Regions from separate parts of the Homo sapiens genome. Here region 2 is linked to region 1. The links are contacts of gene promoters, found by promoter capture Hi-C in blood cells and fetal thymus (Javierre and others, 2016). All regions are on one chromosome and are shown on one strand. Each heading gives the region's core, a stretch centred on a gene start or on the middle of the fragment in contact. The rest is flanking DNA. Distances are from core to core; before and after follow the strand shown.

Evidence for each region. Contacts are between HindIII fragments. The CHiCAGO score rates a contact against its expected background, and 5 or more counts as called.
Region 2: a contact is called between a fragment that was not itself captured here and the fragment with the promoter of EFCAB6 in region 1, in 1 of 17 cell types (endothelial precursors). The highest score is 5.8, in endothelial precursors.

Annotation. Positions count from the first base shown.
Region 1 is chr22:43,809,521-43,815,874 of GRCh38, forward strand. EFCAB6 (EF-hand calcium binding domain 6) reads right to left here and starts at 2,785. Exons shown (of 32, transcript NM_022785.4): 1 at 2,648-2,785. It overlaps EFCAB6-DT (EFCAB6 divergent transcript), which reads left to right and starts at 2,902. Exons shown (of 2, transcript NR_186822.1): 1 at 2,902-3,464. RefSeq lists a silencer at 2,307-2,548 and enhancers at 2,880-3,149, 3,391-4,192. The HindIII fragment of the contact is 9,229 bases long and covers 899-6,354 here.
Region 2 is chr22:43,192,843-43,199,196 of GRCh38, forward strand. It overlaps SCUBE1 (signal peptide, CUB domain and EGF like domain containing 1), which reads right to left. Exons shown (of 22, transcript NM_173050.5): 22 at 4,438-6,354. Among named protein-coding and RNA genes, the nearest start is that of TTLL12, 8.9 kb to the left of the region's middle. RefSeq lists enhancers at 4,297-5,229, 5,230-6,161. The HindIII fragment of the contact is 895 bases long and covers 2,224-3,118 here.

The DNA.
Region 1 (6,354 bases), core at 1,535-4,034:
CCATACTCACTACCATTTATCAGCTTTGTTAAGTCCCTTAACCTCTCTGTGTCCCTGTTGCCTTTTGTTTTGTTTTTTTGTTTGGTTTTGGTTTTGTCTGTTTTGAGATGGAGTTTTACTCTTGTTGCCTAGGCTGGAGTGCAATGGTGTGACCTCGGCTCACTGCAACCTCCACCTCCCAGGTTCAAGAGATTCTCCTGCCTCAGCTTCTGGAGTAGCTGGGATTACAGGTGCCTGCCACCATGCCTGGCTAATTTTTTGTATTAGTAGAGATAGGGTCTCACCACGTTGGCCAGACTGGTCTCGAACTCCTGACCTCAGGTGATCCAACCGCCTCGGCCTCCCAAAGTGCTGGGATTACAGGCATGAGCCACCGCGCACAGCCTGTTTTGTTTTTTGAGACAGGGTCTCATTCTGTCGCCCAGGCTGGAGTACAGTGGCATTATCATGGCTCACTGCAACCTAAAACTCTTGGGTTCAAGTGATCCTCCCATCTCGGCCTCCTGAGTAGCTGGAAGTACAGGCACATGCCACCATAGATATGGGGGGGGTCTGACTTTGTTGCCTGGGCTGGTCTCGAACTCCTGGCCTCAAGCGATCCTCCTGCCTCAGCCTCCCAAAGTGGTAGGATTACAGGCATAAGCCACCACACCCAACTTGTACTTTTCCATAGCCAACTTGTGAGGACTAAATTTAAAAAGTATGAGGGACCAAACTGTGCTTGGCACACAGTAAGTGTTCAATTAGTATTAGCCAGTAGTAGTATTAGTAGTTGCTGTAGTAGAAATAGAAGTAGTAAAACTGTGGACAAATAGATGGAAAGAAAAAGTAACAAATGGTACCTGAAACAAAGTAAACAAAATAGCAGTGAAAGATCAAAACCAAAAGTAGAAAATGAAGCTTTTAATACTGAAAGGGTATCATATTCATGTTATCTCTATTCACAGTTTTCTCAAACCTGTCTCAGTTGTTAACAACTGCCTTGTTAACAACCAGTGGCCTCTCACCAGATTCCTGATCTGGGCAGGCACCAGGCTACTAAACATCCTCATGGAGCTGGTTCTGTCTCCAGGTGCCAGTCAGCTGCAGAGATCAGAGCATGGGTGCTATAGAGATCTCTGTACAAGGGGAAGAGGTAGATAGCTGGAACAGGGCAGTTTTTCCCTGGAGAGCGAAATTTACAGTCTCAGGTAAGCACTTCTTGATAAATATCTATGATCACCTATCATGAACCAAGCATTAAAATAAGCATAGAGGAAAAAGGGAAAGCACAGATAACTAAAATAAAATCCTCATCCTCAAAGGATCTTGCAATAAGACTGGATAGGAGGCAAATATCTTCACATATAATCAAAGGGGCCATTTCTGACTCACTTTCATATCCCCAGAACTTAGCCAAGTAAACGTTTGCTGAATTGAAGGCAATGGATAAAAGACATGAACTGTAGTGTATGAAAGTAGAATTGATTTACAGCATTTCTGTTAAGGCCACCCATTTAGGAACACATATTAAATTAGGCCAAGGCGGGCGGATGGATCACTTGAGGTCAGGAGTTTGAAACCAACCTGGCCAACATGGTGAAATCCCGTCTGTACTAAAAATACAAAAATTAGCTGGGCGTGGTGGCAGGCGCCTGTAATCCCAGCTACTTGGGACACCGAGGCACGAGAATCGCTTGAACCCGGGAGGTGGAGGTTGCAGTGAGCTGGGATCGCTGCACTCCAGCCTGGGTGACAGAGGAAGACTCCATCAGGAAAGAAAAGGAGAGGCGAGGGGAGGGAAGGGGAGGGGAGCGGAGGGGAAGGGGAGGGGAGGAGAGAGGAGGGGAGGAAGGGAAGAAAGGGGAAGGGAAGGGAGGGGAGGGGAGGGAGAAAAGAAAAGAAAAGAAAAAAGAAAAGAAAAGAAGAGTCCTCTTAACAGGGGCAAGACATCCTGAAAGGCAAAGATTTGGAGAGAAAGGAAGGGAGTAGAGAGAGGGGTGATTTGGACAACCTTCAAGTAAGCCCTATACAGATGTATACCTCACAAAGTGCTTCCAAACAAAATTTCTGAGGGAGGCAGGGGTAATTATGTGCAGGCTGTGGGAGAAGAGTGTAAAAGAGCAGAGATTTTGCCGTGATACAGAAATGAGTTTGAATTCTGGCTCAGAAACTTCCTAAGATAGTTGTGTGACTTTGGAAAAGCCCCTTCACCCCACAGGTTTCAAGTCCTCGTCTGTCTACAGGAGGGAGTCAATCATGACATTCACAAGACTGCTGTGGGCACAAATGAAATCAGGGGCATGAGACATGTTGTAAACTGGAGAGATTTAGGGCGTTTCCACACACATTTCCCAGCTGATTCTCACAGAGAGGCAGGGAAGAAGACGTCACCACCGTCAGCGTTGTTTATCGTTCTTCTCCACATATCAGGTAAGCTACGGGAACAGGGGCCCTACTGTTCCCCACAGGGCCCCAGGGCCTACAACATGCCTGGCACAAGCAGACGCGCCATGAACACCTGAATAAACGAATCACCACCCCTTCGTCCCTGGGGGTGGGCAGCAGCGCCGGCCTTCTCAGGGCAGTGAGACCCACGGAGCTGCCCGCCCGCCCGGCCCCTCCTCGGCCTGTCGCACGCGCGTGGCCACCCCGAATACAGCCTTACCGGGAACCCCTCCTCGATTCTCCGCCTAGCTGGGCCGGCACCCGCGTGCGCGGACCCCAAGCCGCGGGGTCTCAGAGGGGCTGCCCATTCGGCGTCTCTAGGACGCTGTTGCCCGAGAGACGACGGCAGTCGCTGACTGGAGAATGAGCCTACGCGCCTGGCAAGAAGCTGAGCTGTGATTGGTCAATTGGAGATAAACGAGGAGGGGGCGGGGCCAGGTCAGTCCCGCGCCTCCGCTCCCGGAAGAAATTTCCGCCGGAAGTCCCGTTCTCTGGGGAGCGGGAACCCTGGCGACCCGTGTCATGGGAGCGGGTTTCTGTTACGTGGGCTTTAGCGCGAGCTGGGCGGTCGGCCCGGTCCCACCGAACTGCATAGGGCCGTGTAGCCGGGGGAAGTCAGCCCCCTGCTCTGAGAAGCAGACTCTGCATCTGTAAAAGGCTAAGCGTGCCCACTGGGGCCTGTGGTCAGGATTGGCTGCAGTGAGGTCCGCAAAGCCCCTACCGCATCCTGCGCCTTCGTTAGGGTGAGCAGTCATGGGGACTCGCATTGTGCCACCACGTAGCGGGTCTCACTGGGTCCGCTTGTCTGCTCGAGGAGACAGCCGGTGAGGACGGGAGCTGGCCTGCTTTGCCCAGGCTGTAACCTCAGCCTCCGCCCATACCCACAGTAAGCATCCATTCCATTGATATTCGCTAAATGAGTGAATTATTACTAAGACAGAGGGCCGAGTGGAAGCGCCATAAATCACGTGAGTGAATGTAATTGTTGTCGCTGACCCTATGGAGCACTTCCCTTGCCAGGCACTCACCCATCCTAGGTATGTACTTTACATGTAATTGTCATCTTCATTTGTCTTCACAACAACCCTGTGAGGTGGGTGCTGTGGTTACTCCCATTTTACAGATAGGTAACTGAGGCACACAGAGCATTTTGTTCAAGGACACACTGCCAGTCAGGGGTAGGAGCAGAATGAGAACCTATGGAGCTTGCTCTTAGGCACCCTGCCACACTGCTCACTGTGGGAGAGAAGCAGCCAGGCAGACGTGTGCAGCTTGGAATTCCTTGCACACATGGCTGCGGCAGGTCAATTAGGTGCCCTGGTGTGTGCTGCAAAGATGGATACTATGCGGTCCCTGCTGGGCACTCTGACTACTTCACTGGGCAGCTAGTTTTCCTGTTCACCAAGAGAATTCTTTCCCATGGCTTGTCTCAGACCTCCCGCACTCACTACTTCCTCACCGGACTCAATGACCATGGGTCTTATCCCATTGAGAAAATGTAATGCATAAGAATGGAATGCACTCCTTCACAATCACTTTGGCATTCATCGCCTCTTTTCCTCTTGCCCCAAAAGAGGGTCTCTTACAGAGGCCAGTCCCTCTAACTGTGTCCTGGATCCCTCCCCATTTGCCTTCTTTATTATAGGCAGTGCTCTAAGTGTGGTCTGGGAATCCCTGGGGATCCTGAGACCCTTTCAGACTGTCCATGGGGCCAAAAAATACTTTCATAACACTTAAGACTTTACTTGCTTTTTCATTGTTTTTCTCTCATAAGTATATGGGGGGATTTTCCAGAAGCTACATGATGTGTGATATTGCAACAAATTGAATGCAAAAGAAGGTAAGAGATCCAGCGGTCTTGTACTAAGCCAGATGTTAAAGAGATCTGCAAAAATAGAAAACTGCCCCTCTTTTCACTTTTTTGGAAAGTGTAATTTTTCATTAGAGAACGTTAACATCTAATGGGTTTATTATTTTTAATGAGTTAATAAATTTTTTATCAATTGTATTTTCTAACATGGTAAATATTGATAGATATAAACATAAATAAAAGTTTTTTGGGATCCTCAATACTTTTTAAGAGTGTGAATGGATCCTGAGGCCAAAAAGTTTGGTCCTGAGATCAAAAGGGCTTCAGTTATTCCCTCTCTCATGATAGCCAAGAGTCTCATTCTTTCTCTTTCTCTCTTTCCCTCCTTCTTGGAACATGCTCTAGTATCTCACATCTTTAAAAAAAAAATAGATGATCTTCTGGTTTCCACCCCATTTCTCTGCTCCTCTTTAACCTGCTTCTCAGTAGAGCTGTCTATACATGCTGTCTTTCAGTTACCAAATTTCACAGAAGCGTGACTCTCATTGCCTGGTAACTGGCATTCTCACAAATACTTCTTCTCTACTTGGCCGTACATTACTTGACCTCTCAGTAGCATTCAGCCCAGTTGATCACTCCTTTCTGCCTGAAATACTTCAGGCTTCTCTAATACCACACCAACTACTCAATTCTTGGGCCCCACTGGTGACTTCCCTCCTCTGTGTGGCCTTTGGATGTTAGGGCCCCTCTGACCCTGTCGTAGGTCCTGCTGTTATGCTTCTCACCAGCCTTGACCCCTCTACTGGAATGTACTGGAGATCACTCAGACTTAAGCCATCCATATTGCCCTTGATCCACTCACCTCCCTCACTCACCTATTACTTTTTTTTTTTTTTCGAGACGGAGTCTTGCTCTGTCGCCTAGACTGGAGTGCAATGGTGCGATCTCGACTCAGTGCAACCTCCACCTCCCAGGTTTCAGCAATTCTCTGCCTCAGCCTCCCGAGTAGCTGGGATTACAGGCGTGAGCCACCATGCCCAGCTGATTTTTGTATTTTTAGTAGAGACAGGGTTTCACCATGTTGGCCAGGCTCGTCTTGAACTCCTGACCTCGTGATCCGCCTGCCTCGGCCTCCCAAAGTGCTGGGATTACAGGTGTGAGCTACTGTGCCTGCCCGCACTCACCTATTCCAAAGCAATGCTCAAACTAGGAAGCCTTGTTGTTACCCTCAATGATCACTACCTCATACCCCATATCTAGTGCTTCAGCAAGTCTTGTCGATTCTAACACCAGAATACGTACATGGTAGCAATCTCATCCATTCTCTCCAAGTTCCCCTGCACTACCTTGCCTTAAAAGCCTTCTTATGCTAAAAATAAAAATCTTTAAAACAGCATGCAGGGCCACTGGGACCATCCTACAACCTCAACCTCATTCTCCCCCCAGGATCGCTATGGTCACAAAGCCCAGAAGCCAGCTTGAATGGGGCTCCTGCTGGCCAGAATAATGAAGGACAGTAAAAGAAATAGGAGTCATGAGTCCAGGCCCAGGAGCGATGGACAGATAGAATAAATGCAGGACAAGGGAGGGCACGTGCTTGCAGTAGCAGGCCTAGGGACAAATGGTCATGCAGGAGGACTAGAGCTGAAAAGCCATCATGTTGCAACCACTGAGTGAAGATTGATTCAGGCAAGGATCATTCACGGGTGCTTCATCTCGGGGTTCTTTGGATGGGGAGCAGGATATTTGCATTGTTTTAAAGGATAGTCCCACAGATCACTTATTACTTACAGGAGAAAAAGTAGTCATAATACAAAAGAAAAATGGACAATGCTTGGATACCATAATAAAAATTAACACTACCAACAAGGAGCATGGACATTGTGTGGCTTCAGATGTAATGTGAAGGACAACCTCCGTTGAAAAGGGCAACTGCTGTAGTATTCTAATCTGGAATGCATCACCTAATCCTATCATAAGAAGACATTAGGAAAAAAAAAATAAAGATAATTCCATTTTTTTAATGGTTTTTGGTGTTTTGTTTGTTTGTTTGTGACAGAGTCTCGCTGTGTTGCCCAGGCTGGAGTGTAGTGATGCGATCTCAGCTCACTGCACCC
Region 2 (6,354 bases), core at 1,421-3,920, 620 kb before region 1:
TCGTCATGTTGTGAAGGCTGGTCTTGAACTCCTGGCCTCAAGTGATCCACAGGTGTCGACCTCCCAAAGTGCTGGGATTACAGGTGTGAGCCACTGTGCCTGGGCCATGGCTAATTTTTTAAGTTTTATTTTTAATAGAGATGAGGTTTCGCTAGTTGCCCAGGCTGGTCTCAAATTATTGACCTCACCTGATCCTCCTGCCTTCGCCTCCCAAAATATTAGGATAAGCATGAGCCGTTGTGCCTGGCCGAGGGTTCTAGTTTTCCTGCCAGCACTTGTTATTCCCTGACTCTTGATTATAGTTCTAGTGGTTGTGAAGTGGTATCTTACAGTTTTCATTTGTATTTTCCCTAATGACTAATGATGTCAATCATCTTTTCATGTGCTTATTGGCCAATTGCATATCTTTTTAGGAGAAATGTTTATTCACATTCTTTGTCCTTTTTTTTTTGAGACAGAGTCTTTCTCTGTCGCCCAGGCTGGAGTGCAGTGGCGTGATCTCGGCTCACTGCAAACTCTGCCTCCTGAGTTCAAGTGATTCTCTTGCCTCAGCCTCCCTAGTAGCTGGGATTACAGGTGCCCACGGCTAAATTTTGTATTTTTAGTAGAGATGGGGTTTCACCATTTTGGCCAGGCCGGTCTTGAATTCCTGACCTCAAGCGATATGCTGGCCTTGGCTTGCCAGAGTGCTGGATTACAGGTGTGAGCCACTGTGCCCAGCCTCTTTGTCCATTTTTTTGTTGTTGATATAGAGACAGGGTCTTGCTTTGTTGCCCAGGCTGGTCTTGAACTCCTGGCCTCAAGTGATCCTCTTATCTTGGCCTCCCAAAATGCTGGGATTACAGGCATGAGCCTCTGTGCCTGGCCTTCTTTGTTCTTTTGTTTTTTGTTGTTGTTTTTTTGAGACGTAGTTTCCCTCTTGTCACCCAGGTTGGAGTGCAATGGTGTGATATTGGCTCACTGCAACCTCCTCCTCCTGGGTTCAAGTGATTCTCCTGCCTCAGCTTCCTATGTAGCTGGGATTACAGGTGCATGCCACCACGCCTGGTTAATTTTTTGTATTTTTAGTAGACATGCGGTTTCATCATGTTGGTCAGGCTGGTCTCAAACTCCTGACCTCAGGTGATTCGCCTTCCTTGGCCTCCCAAAATGCTGGGATTACAGCCACTGCTCCCAGCCTGTTCTTTTTTTTTTTTCTTTTCTTTTTTTTTTTTTTTGAGACGGAGTCTTGCTCTGTTACCCAGGCTGGAGTGCAGTGGCCCGATCTCGGCTCACTGCAACCTCCACCTCCTGGATTCACACCATTCTCCTGCCTCAGCCTCCCGAGTAGCTGGGACTACAGGCGCCTGCCTCCACACCCGGCTAGTTTTTTGTATTTTTAGTAGAGACAGGGTTTCACTGTGTTAGCCAAGATGGTCTTGATCTCCTGACCTCGTGATCCGCCCGCCTCGGCCTCCCAAAGTGCTGGGATTACAGGTGTGAGCCACCATGCCTGGCCGCCTGTTCATTTTTAAATTAGGTTATTTGTCTTATTGTTGAGTTGTAAGAGTTCTTTACATATCCTGGATACTGGAGTCTTATCAGATATGTGATTTGTAAAGGTTTTTTTCCTATTCTGTTATCTTTTCACTTTCTTCACAGAGCCCTTTGAAGTACAAGTTTTCAATTTTGGTGAAGTCCAATTTATATATTTTTTCTTTGGTGCCTTATTATTTGTGTGTTACATTTAAGAAGGCATTGCCTGGGTAGAGGGTGTACTGCTCAGGTGATGGGTGCACCAAGGTTTCAGAAATCACCACTAAAGAACTTATTCATGTAACCAAACACCACCTGTTCCCCCAAAACTTAACGGAAATACAAAAATTGAAGTTAAAAAAAAAAGAAGCCATTGCCTAATTCAAGATTCCAAAGACTTATTTATCTGTCTTAGTTTCTAAGAGTTTTATAGTTTTAGCTGTTACATTTCAGTCGTTGATCACTTTGAGTTGATTTTTTGTATAGGAGGTAGGGGTCCAACTTCCTTTCTTTTGCATGTAGATATCCAGTTGTCCTAGTACCATTTGTTGAAGAGACTATTTTTTCCCCATTAAATGGTTTTGGCACTCTCGTTGAAAACCAACTGATGGATGATAAATTTAAGGGTTCATTTCTGGACTCTGAATTCTATTCCATTGATCTGTAGGTCTGTCCTTCTGCTAGTACCACAAAATCTTGATTAATGTAAGCTTGTAGTAAGTTTTAAAAATGAGAAGCGTGAATCCTCCAATTTTGTTCTTTTTCAAGACTGTTTGGCTACTATGGGTCTCTTGCATTTCTATATGAATTTTAGGATTCGCATGTCAGTTTGTGCACGAAGCCAGCCTGGATGTTGATGGGGATTGCACTGAATCTCTAGACCAATTTGGGGAGTACTGTCATCTTGACAATACTGTCTTCCAATCCAAGAGTACAGATCTTCTTTAATTTCTTTTCTCTTTTTTTGAGATGGGGTCTTACTTTGTCACCCAGGGTGGAGTGCAGTGGCTGGATCTCGGCTCACTGCAACCTCTGCCTCCTAGGCTCAAGCGATCCTCTCACCTCGGCCTACCGAGTAGCTACGACCACAGGTGCGTGCCACCATGCCTGGCTAATTTTTTGTATTTTTGGTAGAGACAAGGCTTCTCCATGTTGCACTGGTTGGTCTTGAACTCCTGAGCTCAGGCTCTCCACCCACCTTGGCCTCCCAAAGTGCTGGGATTACAGGGGTGAGCCACTGTGCCCACCGTACAACTGATTTTTATATATTGATCTTATGTTCTGTAACCTTGTGAATTTCATCAGCTCTAGTAATTATTTGTGGATTCCTTAAGTATCTTCCATATAGAAGATCAGGACATGTGAAATGGATAATTTTGTTTCCGTTCCAATCTGGATGCTGTTTATATTTTTTTCCTGCCTAATTGTCCTGGCTAGACCTCCAGCAGAGCGGTGCAGGCACGCATCCTGGTCTTGTTCCTGCACATGTTGCTTTTAAGATATATCCCTTTTGTTGCAGGATGTTAATTAATTGTCATAGCTACATAATATTTAATTACGTGACTATGATGCAGTTTTCCACGAAGAGACTTAGGTTATCTTAAGCTTTTTGCTCTAATAAACATGAGGCTATGAATAGTTTTGTATATTTCCTGGAACATATATGTAAAAAAGAGATTCCCTATTTGTATACAGTAAGTTGATCCATATCCTCTCTGATTCTGATTTTATCACACTTATTATTGTTTTTTTGCCAACCTAGTGCTAACATGGCATATTTTTGTTGTCTCAATTTATATTTCCATTTGTGTGTGTGTGAAAGCAAGTTTATTAGAGAAGTAAAGAAACAAAAGCATGGCTACTCCTAGGCAGAGCAGCCTGTATTTCCATTATTATTAATGAGATTGAGCACCTTTTCAAATGGTAATTGGCTGTCCTGTTTCTTCTTCTGCGAAATGCATGTATATATCTTTTGTCAGTTTTTATTTTTTATTTTTCATTTTTTGTAGAGATGGGGGAGTCTTGCCATGTTGCCCAGGCTGGTCTCGAACTCCTGGACACATGCAATCCTCCTGCTTTGGCTTCCCAAAGTGCTGGGATTATAGGTGTGAGCCACTGCACCTGACCCTAGATTTCTTTTAGAACCTGAGGAAAGCTGTGGGCCATATTCCCAGAGAAATAGAAATGTGTATCTGTACATGCATGTGTACACACACACACACACACACACACACACACACACACAGCATTGCGTGCCGAATTTCAATGAGTCATAGATTCCCTGAGGCTCACTGTGACCATGACTTCCAGATTAAAGCCCCAGTGTCAAAGAACAACTCTTGGCCGGACACGGTGGCTCACGCCTGTAATCCCAGAACTTTGGGAGGCTGAGGCGGGCGGATCACGAGGTCAGAGATCGAGACCATCCTGGCTAACACGGAGAAACTCCGTCTCTACTAAAAATACAAAAAATTAGCCAGGCGTGGTGGCGGGCGCCTGTAGTCCCAGCTACCCGGGAGGCTGAGGAAGGAGAATGGCGTGAGCTCAGGAGGCGGAGCTTGCAGTGAGCCGAGATCACGCCACTACTCTAGCCTGGGCAACAGTGAGACTCTTGTCTGAAAAAAAAAAAAACAAAAACAAAACTCTCATTTCATCATGAGTTATGCGGGGAAATGGGATTTGAAATATGGACATTTTGCCTTCTGCCAGTTAGAAGCATGTCTGTTCCCTAAATGTGGGCGCCCCCTGCGTCTGTACGTAGATCTCCACCTCGCTGCTTTATTTTCCAGAGGTTACTGTAGCTCCTTACTTTCAGTCCTCAATAGCGTCATGAAATTTCTTCCATTATTTTTTCTTTTCTGGATTCCAGTTAGCATTTCCCCCCAACTCATGACTTCTGCTGAATAAGAGAAAAGAGCAATATTTAGGTTCATTTCCTGTTTATTATTAAAGTGATTTTCACAAATGTTTCATTACATGCATATGGGGGACATGATGGATAAAACAAAACTGAATATTTGTGGCAACTAAAAGGAAGATGTGGTTATGTTGGTATTTGCCACTTGCAGGCAGAGTCGTTGCCAAGCGTCTGGACAATACAGTGCCCTCACAGGAGCCAGAAGTGAAGTCTGCGGGCCGCTAGCACAGCGCCCTGGTGTCCTGTTCCCCGAGCAATGTGGCCTGCGTCTGCTCGGCATGTTGGAGGTTCTGATCTCAGCGGAGTAAGACACCCGGCATCGGTCAGCTCCCTCTTCCTCCTCCTGCTTTCTGCCACCCATCTGCCGAGGGCACTGGGCACTCTCTTACTTGCATCTCTGCAGGGCTGTGCCGGGGCCTCCCCAAGAGCAGTGGGGACACTCGGCAAGGGCACTTGAGCCTCTGGCTGTGTCTGCTCACGTCGGCACAGTGAGTACCCTGTCCGCCTGGTAGGGAAGGCAGAAGCTGTCTTTTCTCCGAACGAGTTTTTCGTGCTTGTGAAGGAGGGAAGGAATGTCACTGAAGTCACCCTGGCCCGGGATCCTCCTGTTCTCTCCCCTCCCTGCAGCCTTCTCTCTGTCTCTGGACTCCACCGCCAGGGCTGACCTGGCCCAGTTTCCAATCTGTAAGCTTCAGATTGATCAACGTTTTAGAGACATTTCCTACCCTTGGATTAGATGGGCTTGAGTTTGATTCCCAAATCCAGGGACTACCAACTCTTTGCCTTGGGCATGTCCTGTGGTCTCCCAGAGCCTTCATTTCCACATCTGAAGAATGGTCTTAACCCCACCATCTACATGGGGCTGGGGGGATGGAATGTGTGGATATTAGAGGGTTGAGCCCAGAGCCTGGCACCCAGTGGGCACTGAGTGAGCGTCAGCTTCCCCACCTTTCCCTTCTTCCTGTTGGGGCTTGGGGGGTGCAGACAATTCCAGGGGGCTCACTCAGGGGCTCTGAGTGGCATGGTGCAGCAGGGGACTGGAGAGGCCTTGAGGCCATCGCAGCAGATGCTGGGAGGGCACGCAGGCCATGCCTGTGTTGTCTGGGCTTCAAGGATGCTTTGCCCACACCTGATGTCCTTTCCAAGAGCAAGGCAGGTGGGATCAGGCCAACCCCAGCTCTGCCTGCCCAGGACTTACTCCTGGAAGGGCCAGGGATCTGTGGGTGCTGTGGGGGCAGAGGCAGCCGCGGTAGAATAGGAGGCGCTCTCTGCTCTCTCTCCACATCCTCACTCCACCCCTCATTACATCCTCTGCCCTTGGCCTGAATGATGTCGGCTCGGCATGGACACCTTGTGCATCTTTGGTGAAAAGGGACCTCAATGTCAGGTGCAGTTTGCCAGGGTGACCAGACTTCCTGAGCATGGACCAGGGGAGGTGAAAATGGCTGGACTCCCTGGGTGAGAAGGAAGGCTTCTCCCTGTGGGGCATGCACTGTGGCAGGCAAGGTGAGCAGGCTGTCCAGGGCAGCTTGTCTGCTGTCTGGGGCAGGGTGTCTGTCTATCTGCTGTCTGGGGAAGTGTGTCTGTCTGTCTGCTGTCTGGGGCAGTTTGCTGTCTGCTTTCCGGGGCAGTTTGTCTGTCTGCTGTCTGGGGCAGTTTGTCTGTCTGTCTGCTGTCCGGGGCAGTTTTTCTGTCTGCTGTCCGGGGCAACGTGTCTGTCTGTCTGCTGTCCGGGGCAGTGTGTCTGTTTGTCTCTCTGCTGTCCAGGGCAATGTGTCTGTTTGTCTGTCTGCTGTCCGGGGCAGTTTGTTTGTCTGTCTGCTGTCTGGGGCAGTTTGTCATCTGTGCAGGGCACCAACTCCCTGTCTTTCTAGGAGCCTGGCACACAGGAGGTGCTCAGTAAATGTTTGCGAAATGACTCA